Regions from separate parts of the Homo sapiens genome. Here region 1 is linked to region 2. Evidence: promoter capture Hi-C in human tissues and cell types (Jung and others, 2019). All regions are on one chromosome and are shown on one strand. The core of a region is centred on a gene start or on the middle of the fragment in contact, and the rest is flanking DNA. Distances in the headings are between cores, read along the strand shown.

Evidence for each region. The method cuts DNA at HindIII sites, captures the fragments that hold promoters and counts their contacts. A contact is called where the count stands out against the background at its distance.
Region 1: a contact is called between a fragment that was not itself captured here and the fragment with the promoter of TANC1 in region 2, in 2 of the 25 tissues and cell types used here (IMR-90 fibroblasts and hippocampus).

The regions. Positions count from the first base shown.
Region 1 is chr2:159,070,419-159,074,903 of GRCh38, reverse strand. The region is part of intron 3 of TANC1 (tetratricopeptide repeat, ankyrin repeat and coiled-coil containing 1); the gene reads right to left. Among named protein-coding and RNA genes, the nearest start is that of TANC1, 100 kb to the right of the region's middle. The HindIII fragment of the contact is 4,174 bases long and covers 1-3,630 here.
Region 2 is chr2:158,967,075-158,971,245 of GRCh38, reverse strand. It overlaps TANC1 (tetratricopeptide repeat, ankyrin repeat and coiled-coil containing 1), which reads right to left and starts at 2,606. Exons shown (of 27, transcript NM_033394.3): 1 at 2,464-2,606. RefSeq lists silencers at 2,571-2,650, 2,711-2,820. The HindIII fragment of the contact is 16,038 bases long and covers 1-4,171 here.

The DNA.
Region 1 (4,485 bases), core at 294-2,793, 100 kb before region 2:
CAGAAAACTTGCTATCCCTGTCTCTACCATGTGAGAACACAGGGAGAGGGCAACCCCTACAAGCACCCAACCATGCTGGCACCCTCATCTCAGACTTTCAAGCGTGCAGCATGGCGAGGGGAAATAAGTTTCTATTGTTAAAGCCACCCAGTCAATGGTGCTTTGTTACGGCAGCTCAAGCAGACTAAGACAACACGAAGATGTACTATCAAAAATCAAAATATTTTTAACATCTCGTACTTGGAAAGAAGCTTTCTAGATAAGTCATATAGAAAATTTGCTTAGTGGGGCGTGAAGAGCAAGCCCTCACAAAGAAACAATGCATTAACATAAATTCCTTAATTTTGGCAAGTGAAATAAAAACACAATCATCAGGAAGACCCTGTGTGCAGGTGGCTCTCTTCCATCCTTAACCTGGAGTCTACCTCCAGGCTCTTAGCCTCTGCTATCAGCCAGTTTCGTGATCTACAAAAACCCAGACAAGATCTCAAACCACTACAGCCACCTCCATGCATGTCTCACATCAGAGACATCATTCCTGATGACATCCCAGGGCATAAAGATCATCACCATGTACCAAATCTAGCAGTTGAAGGCTCCAAACTCCCTTAAAAATGGGCAACTCCCTGACAAACTTTAAGAGTGTGAAGAATTAAAACCAGCTGCTCAGTTGCTCGTTTTACCTTTACCCACTGCACTGTGGTCACCAGAACATAGGACAAGAACAATGGTATTTTCATGGCTGATGAGGTATAACTAGCCTGCCCCTAAAAGGACAGAGGGGAGTGGGAGAGAGAAGACACACAGATGCTGCGTTCTAACTCTGATTCTGGATGTGAATAAGGTTTCTCAATTTGATGCTGATCCAGAGCTAGGGCTACCCAGCTGGTCACCTGATGGCCACCCTCATTAACTGCAAGACAACTGGTTGGTAAACACACCATCCCCTTAAGACTCTTATGAGGAATACTCAGTTTGGATCACCAGCCACGAAATAAAAGCCAATCTACTTCAGAATCCTTTGTAGCCCGTCTCCCCACTCAGGAACTACACTTGCCAGTAGATTATATGAAATCAAGTTTTTTACATTCCTGTAGGATAGAAATAAAACCTTAGAATTCCCCTTCTAGGAAGTGCAAATAGAAAACATGGAAAAGCAAAGATGAAACTTTTTATGGGAATTAAGTTACATATACATGGAACTTTCTGAAAACTAAGTCTGTACAAAATAAGACCTTTGTGTTTTACAGAGGAGTTTTAATAAAAATTTGTGAAATAAAATTAGATTTGATAATTTAAAAATGAACTCGGAATTGCTCATTTGCCTACTACTGATCTAGCTTCCTATGGCATTTATACATACACATACAAAAAGCAGCTCAAGTAAAGAAGCATTGTTTGAGAGTTTTATCACATGCTTTATGATGATTCAGATAGGTGGTGCCTTGCTGGAGATCTTATGCCACAAAAAGGTCTTATTAGTCCAGGGTGACTGACTTCCCTTTCCTCTGGGGTCCAGAGCTTTCTCCAAGTATGCCCCCCACCAGGAAAACAGGCAGTTCAGCATGAAACCAGCTTGGGCCTTACATGTAGGTGCCTAATGATAAACGGTAGATATCTGTTCCCTACTTCCCCTAACTCTTTCATCCTTTATATTTCCCTAAAACACATGGAAAAGCTATGAAGAGGTCGGGGGACAAGGGCCCTCCATATATAAAGACCTTCATTCACAAAGGATGTGTTGAGATAACATTTTATAAACTGTACTTAGAAATCTATTCTCGAAACTGCTTGCCAACTCCCGAAATCCCTTTAAGCAAGGAGAAAAGCCTTTCAGTTTAACTTCATAAAGAGAAAACCATAAAATGCAAGTACTTCATAGAGGTTAAAAGGTAAAATACATTATTTTGAAAGCATAAACCACCACAGGGCAGACAAATGACTCAGAGCTTCCCCAGTTTTGTTATAGGGGAAAGGCTGAAGCTGGGAGAAGAGCCTTTAGTATCCAGAGGAGATGCCAGAATATTTGGGAATAGGAAGTCATGGAAAGAAGCTTCTAGAACATCACTCTTCATCTGAGATCAGTCCTGTCTTCTCCATAACAGAAAAGGAACAAGAAGCTTTTTTTTTTTTAATTATTATACTTTAAGTTTTAGGGTACATGTGCACAACGTGCAGGTTAGTTACATATGTATCCATGTGCCATGTTGGTGTGCTGCACCCATTAACTCGTCCTTTAACATTAGGTATATCTTTTATTTATATATTTTTAAGGGTTTTGTTAGTTCTTTAAGGTATCACACAGTTTTCTCAAGAAAGAAAAGATGTACTGGATATCTAGCAGAGGCCAAATGTCAAGCTAAAACACTTTTGCAGAAAGGTATTCGTATTCAACCCTGACAATACAACTATAAGGTAGTTTAATCAAGGTTAAGAAAATATGTCCAAATTCAAGTTAAATAGGAGGTGATCGAGCAGGGATGTGAGTCTGTGTCCTCTAATTTCAAAGTCCATGCTTTTTCTTGACTTTGTGACATACATGAGGGACAACAAAGAAAATCTGATGAAGGAACCTATCAAACCAGAGGGAACAACCAGCATTCCTGCTCCTATTAAAAATCAGGCTGGGCACAGTGGCTCACGCCTGTAATCCCAGCACTCTGTGAGGCTGAGGTGGGCAGATCACCTGAGGTTAGGATTTTGAGACCAGCCCGGCCAACATGGCAAAACCCCACCTCTACTAAAAATACGAAAATTAGCTGGGTGTGGTGGCACATGCCTGTAATCCCAGGTACTTGGGAGGCTTGGGCAGGAAAATCGCTTGAACCTAGGAGGCTGAGGTTGCAATGATCCAAGATGGCACCCACTGCACTCCAGCCCAGGCAACAGAGCCGAGACTTCATCTCAAAAAACAAAAAACAAAACAAAAAAACACAGAAGTCCCATTCTATGTTTAAATCATGTTCTAACATTTTGCAGAATTTGTTTAAATGCCCCAGTAAAGAAAAATACAATACCTTTATACTGAATTATTTCTGCTTGTTTTGTTGCTTGGGAAACACTTTTGGAGAATGTTAACAAGAAGATACCAAATATCCATAGCTCAGCAAGAGAGTCACTGCACTAAATTCCTAAATAGTCCACAACCACAGAAAACGGGCAGTGGCAGCACAGAATAATCAAAAGCAGCTTCGTATTTTCTACATAAAACAAAGCATCATTTGTATTGAGGCATGTTTAGAAGGTACCACTGAAAGCCAGGCTGCAGCCTGGAATGGCTTAAAATACCAAGTTTAACAATCACATCAATGGCTTTTAAACTTTAGAGGCAAACAGCTTCCTTCTACTTGAAATTCAAAGTGAAGAATTAGATGCAAAGCTAATAGATTAATTCAGTACACACACAGGCTTAGAGACTATCCAATGCCTTAATTAACATCATTACAAGTGTATTTAGCCAACCACCTGGGTTTTAATGAGAGAAAGGTAAAGGTCAAAAAAAAATTTTTTTTTAACAAGTTGCTTCAAACTAAGTCCCCCTACTGGGGAAAAATAAAGCACAAATAATTTAACTACAAATAAAAGACTTAACATAAACAGTTTTTATTTTGGCACATTAAGGAACTATTCCTTAATCAGTCTATATTTTTTCTGTATTTTAATTGAGGCAGTACTGCAATTAAAAGTTCACTGAACTTTGCTGTTCTGCCTCAGCTTGAACCTACTTCCTCACCAATACTGAACAACTAGGAGAATTACAGCGGGCAAAACACTACAGATTGAAGACTGGTGGAAGGCAGAAGGGACAGAAGTAGACAGGGACCAGCCTTCTCTAGAGAGCAAGAGGCCTTGACCACCTAATGCTTCCAGAGTAAGGACAAAATCTCCAGGGTTTAAAGAAAGAACAGAAACACTACCAACTGTGAGCTTTAATTACATCATAGATGTTAGATCAAATTATGTTTCATTTCTTGGAGACCAGTAGAAAAAAAAATATTAGCTGAGCCATTTACTCGCTATGTGGTAGTAACAGCTACCATAATGAGCTGCAATTAGATATCTGTGCTTCCTTAGTTTTTGAAGGGGAGGGAACCTGCCCAATGTCTATGACTGAAGAATCCTCCACAATGCATATGGTGGTGGATAGTAAAGTCCATCTTGTACAAATCTTAGCCAAGAAGTCCAAACACACTCTTCCGGGCTCTCTCATGCAGCTAGATCCGAGGCACGTGAACCAGGTTCGGCCATTTATATGCACCTGCCTCACATTTTCAAATTGTCCTTGATTTTCCTTTAAGCACTTTCTCTTCCAGATGGATTTTTGAATCAATTTTGTAGTGTTTTAAAAAAACACACAGGATTTTTAGAGCCATGAAACTACTCTGTGATACAACAATGGTAGATATGTCATTACACGTTTGTTCAAACCCACAGAATACACAATATCAAGAGTGAACCTGATGTAACCTATGGACTTTGGGTGAT
Region 2 (4,171 bases), core at 1,357-3,856:
TCCACTGGCTCAGGGATGCTGGTTTTAATGTTCCCAGAGAAATAAAGAATTAATCAGCAACTCAGAAGAGAACGTTGCCTAAAAATGGACGATTTAATCCAGACAACTCCATTGTCTCTAAAATTATGCCCTCAATCACCCAGTGTCAAAACCTACTATGGCACCAAATAAATCGTGTGTGGTTAAAGAGACAAAATGTTCTTTTTTCTACAGGCTGTTATGGGAAGCAGAAAAAGGCTGACTATGAATCAGTTATATCTTAGATCAAGGATGGATATAAATTATAATAATTTGGGCATTCTGGTGGTTAAACCAAGAAAGCAGGAAAACCATTGCTTCCAAGTTCCAGCAACACTTCAAACCAAAAGGCTTGGTGCCAAAAAGTTAAGTTTGGGGCACCACATGTGCAAGACAGGGTCATAAAAACTCACCTTAAATTTATTTGTGGACTTTTCCTGCTTCCACTAAAATCGATGACACTATTTCCCATCTCTTATTGTCAAATCACAACAGTCCGGAAGCCTGAACCAAGTTCACTTGGCAGGTAACAGGAACAACCCTAGGAGGAAGTCCTGAAGGATATCAGATACCATACTTCCTTTACTGCCACATACTTTTCATTTCAGAACCACCAGGATATATTTATGATGCTTTTTGACTAACACTCACCAAGCATTCTGGCTGACACAAACTGCAGAAACTGGCATACTCTAGGGAAGGTCCCTTGTGAGGTCTTTAAGTAGCTTAGATGAGTAAAACACTCAGACTACTTCTATAATGAAGTAGTCTCAGCCGCTCATAAACTCCTTCATTCCCAGCAATCAAGAAGCAGCTGTTAAAATCCTGGAATCTTCCTAGTAGCAGATCTGAAATACCTCCAGGCTGACCCAGGAAGCTTCACAACTGCTTTCCTCTCCTTCCCCTCCCCTGCCTCAGGAGTGCCAGCCTGGCAGGAATAAAGATGACCAAGGAAGGAAAAAAGAGGGTAGCGGATCTGGTGAAAGCAGAGACGCAGACTCCCTTCATTTCCACTACAGAGAAATACCAGCCCTCTGTGCCAACTAACCAGGTTTCTCCTTTCCTCTCCCACCCCCACCCCTCCAAACACGCATTAACTTCTGCAGTCTGGTGTGTCTGGCATTTCCAGAGCGAGCGATCTCAGCAATCTTGAGCCCTTTCCTCAAAGATTCTGAACCAGGAACTTCCTTTCCGCGCCAGCCAGAGTTTGCGGTCCAACCCACGTTAAGACTCAGCTTCCATTTACCTTGTAACCTGTACGGACGACGCTGCTTCTGGGGTCAAGTTCAAGATGAAAGTTCCCTCCTCACCTCCCAAGTTAACTCCAGCAGGGAACAACGCCACTGAGAACGGTCCCAACACTGGAGGCACGCGGATCTGGAGCTGGCAGGAGGGGGCTGGGAGAAGGCCGTTGCCGAGCCTGGCGTCCTCCGCCCCTTGGCCGCAGCGCCGCGTTTCTACCTGGCCAACGCCACATTTCCTCCCGGAGCTTTACACAATAAGTCCAGTAAGTTTTGAGAACACCGGTCCAGGGACCTTTCTGTCTGCAAACACACCACACAATGCCTAGAGCTTCCTTCCCAGCCAGGCGTTCCGGAAAGCCGCCGCGCCAAAGCCGGGAGCCCCGCACACCCACAGCGCTGCGCGCCCGCACCCCAAAGTCCTCCAGGAAGCCAGTGCCCTGATATCGTCCCCCGAAAATGACCACTCTGCATCCAAGAACAAGGGGGCTCACAATCTTGACAATTACCGCTCTTCTCAGCGCCCCACCCCTAAAGAAAAACCCCCAACGTCTAATCCTAACTCACCCCCACCCCCAATAAAGGAGTGTGGATATGCTAATCGCAGTGTTCTTGGAAGCAAAGCAATAGACTTTCAGCCCAGACTGGGGCAATACCATGCCTCCGGCTTAAGTTCTCTCGGCAACTTCGCGACCCGCGCACCCCAACACTCCGGGGGGCGCCCAGGACCCCGCGGTGCCAGGCGCGCCTCCCCCCGCCTCCCCCGCGCCAGGTACCAGGCGTAGCCCAGGCCCTTGCCAAGCCCGAGGGCTACAGAGAAGGCGGGAAAGGGGGCGAGCGGGCGCGCCGGGCGGGGGTGGTCCCAGAACTCGAGCGTGCCCCAAGCGTTCCCGGTTCCCACCACACCGGTTCCAGGGGAGGCCGGCTCGGTCCGGCGCGGGGGAACCGCGCAAGGAAGGTGCGGACTCCCCAAAGCCGCCGAGAGACCAAGGCCCGGGGCGCCCAACATGTCTGTGCCTATTCCCGGAAAGCTCCCGGGTGTGCCCGGCGGAGGAGGGGGCGCTCCAGAAACTTTCCCACACGCCTTTCCCTTCTCCCATCACCCTCTCCACCCCGGGTCCCTCTCGACCTCTCCGCACACTGGCAGCTGGCCATGCCCGGGGCGCTCGCAGGCCCGCGGCGGAGTCCGGGCTGCGGGAGTTACCTGCCGGGAAAGTTTCCAGCTCCTCAGCGCGGTTCCCCACACCCAGGGCCGGGCCTCGGGGCGAGGCCAGCTCGGCGCTCCGCGGCTGCCTCTCCTCCGGCTCCCGAGGCGGCCGCCGCTCCAGCAGCTGCCACAGCAAAGCCTCCGCTCCGGCCCGTCCCCCCGCCTTGCTCGGCCCACACCGGGGCCTCATTGGCAGCGCGAATCCCCGCCCTTGCGCGTGTTCCCGAAGGCACCTTCCTCTCGCGCGCCCGCCCCGGCCGCGCCTCCCGCGCCCCTCCCCGCCCCGGGCTGCGGCGGATCCAGGGACCGGCTGGAGCGCGGAGCGCGAACTTTCCGCGGGGCTTGGGCGCGAGGTCCCCTTGTCCCGCCTCTCGGCGCCAGGTCCGGGCCTGAAGCACCCTACCATCCCTCTGGGCACCGGGTCCCCCGGGGCTGCGCCTAGGCCCCTCTGGGACCAAAATGAGATGGGCCATAGTCTTTTTTACAGCCTCTTCAAAATCAATAAAGCGACCCGGCCTTCCCTCCTCGCTGCTTTTTTACCACAGCCGAGGAGGACATATGGGAGCAATTAACCGAGCTGGAGTTTCCGTGGACGCTTTGGGGTGGCTTGTGCGGCTTTCTTGGATTTTCTCTGCCTCACTTAACTACACACAAACACAAACACACTTTCTGGGGCCAGAATCAGCTAAATGAGCTGGAAGGTCTAAGAAGGCATCTCACCGGCTGCGTCTTTTTATTTCCCAAAAGGAATGGGGGACGTTCTGGGGCCGGTGATTTCCCGGGCGTCCCTGGGGCCGCGGGTCTGGAGCCTCCTGCGACCGCTCCGGGCTGGCCCGTGCTGTCTGCGCTACATTCACAGAGGGCCAGCGTCGTGCTTCTGTCGGAAGGAGGTGGGAGGGACGGAGGGGAGAGAACACACAAAGATGCTATTATTTTGTCGGTTGGTGGCAGTAAATTAAACTCCTGAGTTCCCAAAATGTTTTGTTATTCTCCAGCAGAGCAAAAACCAGGATAGGGACTAGGGATTCGGGTGTCCTGGGTTCTCCAAGATCCTCCCAGGAATCCCAGGCAGCCAAATTGGCCTAAGGGACTCTGCTCACTTAATACCCGAAGCTCTCTAAGACAGCCTTCGTTGATCTAGTTGACGAAGGAAGGATCAACTAGAACTGCCGCTGCCTTGTGTGGCCAGCGGGAATTGTGCACGGGTCACCCCATTGGTGTGTCTGGAGCAGAGAATAGAGAAGTTGCTGTAAACCGATTTATTGGTAACCCCTAACCTTGCTGTGGCAAACCCGCCTTAAAATACGATTGTGTTTTAAACAAGTTTCCTCATAAAAACTTCAACCTCACGCAGAGCTTCCCTATATAAAGACACCAGCAGGAGGGGTGTCCATATTTAAAGTTCTTATGAAAAGGGACAGGAAGCAAAATGCCACACAATCTCTTTTCATAAATTAAAAAGACTGAAATGGACTGGATTTTTCACCCATAGTTTCAAAGGCCTGATTACTGCTGTGTTGATATTTGAGCAGTAAACACATCAGCGGCCTTGAAGTATTCCCGAAACAAGGCAGGATAGAATATTGAAAATAAAAATACAAACTTAAACCAGAAAACTATTGACTTCTTTCTCCATCTGAAATGTTTCATTGCTGAAAAATATGGTAATGTTTTATTTAATTTATCTTGAAACGAAATCTTTCAA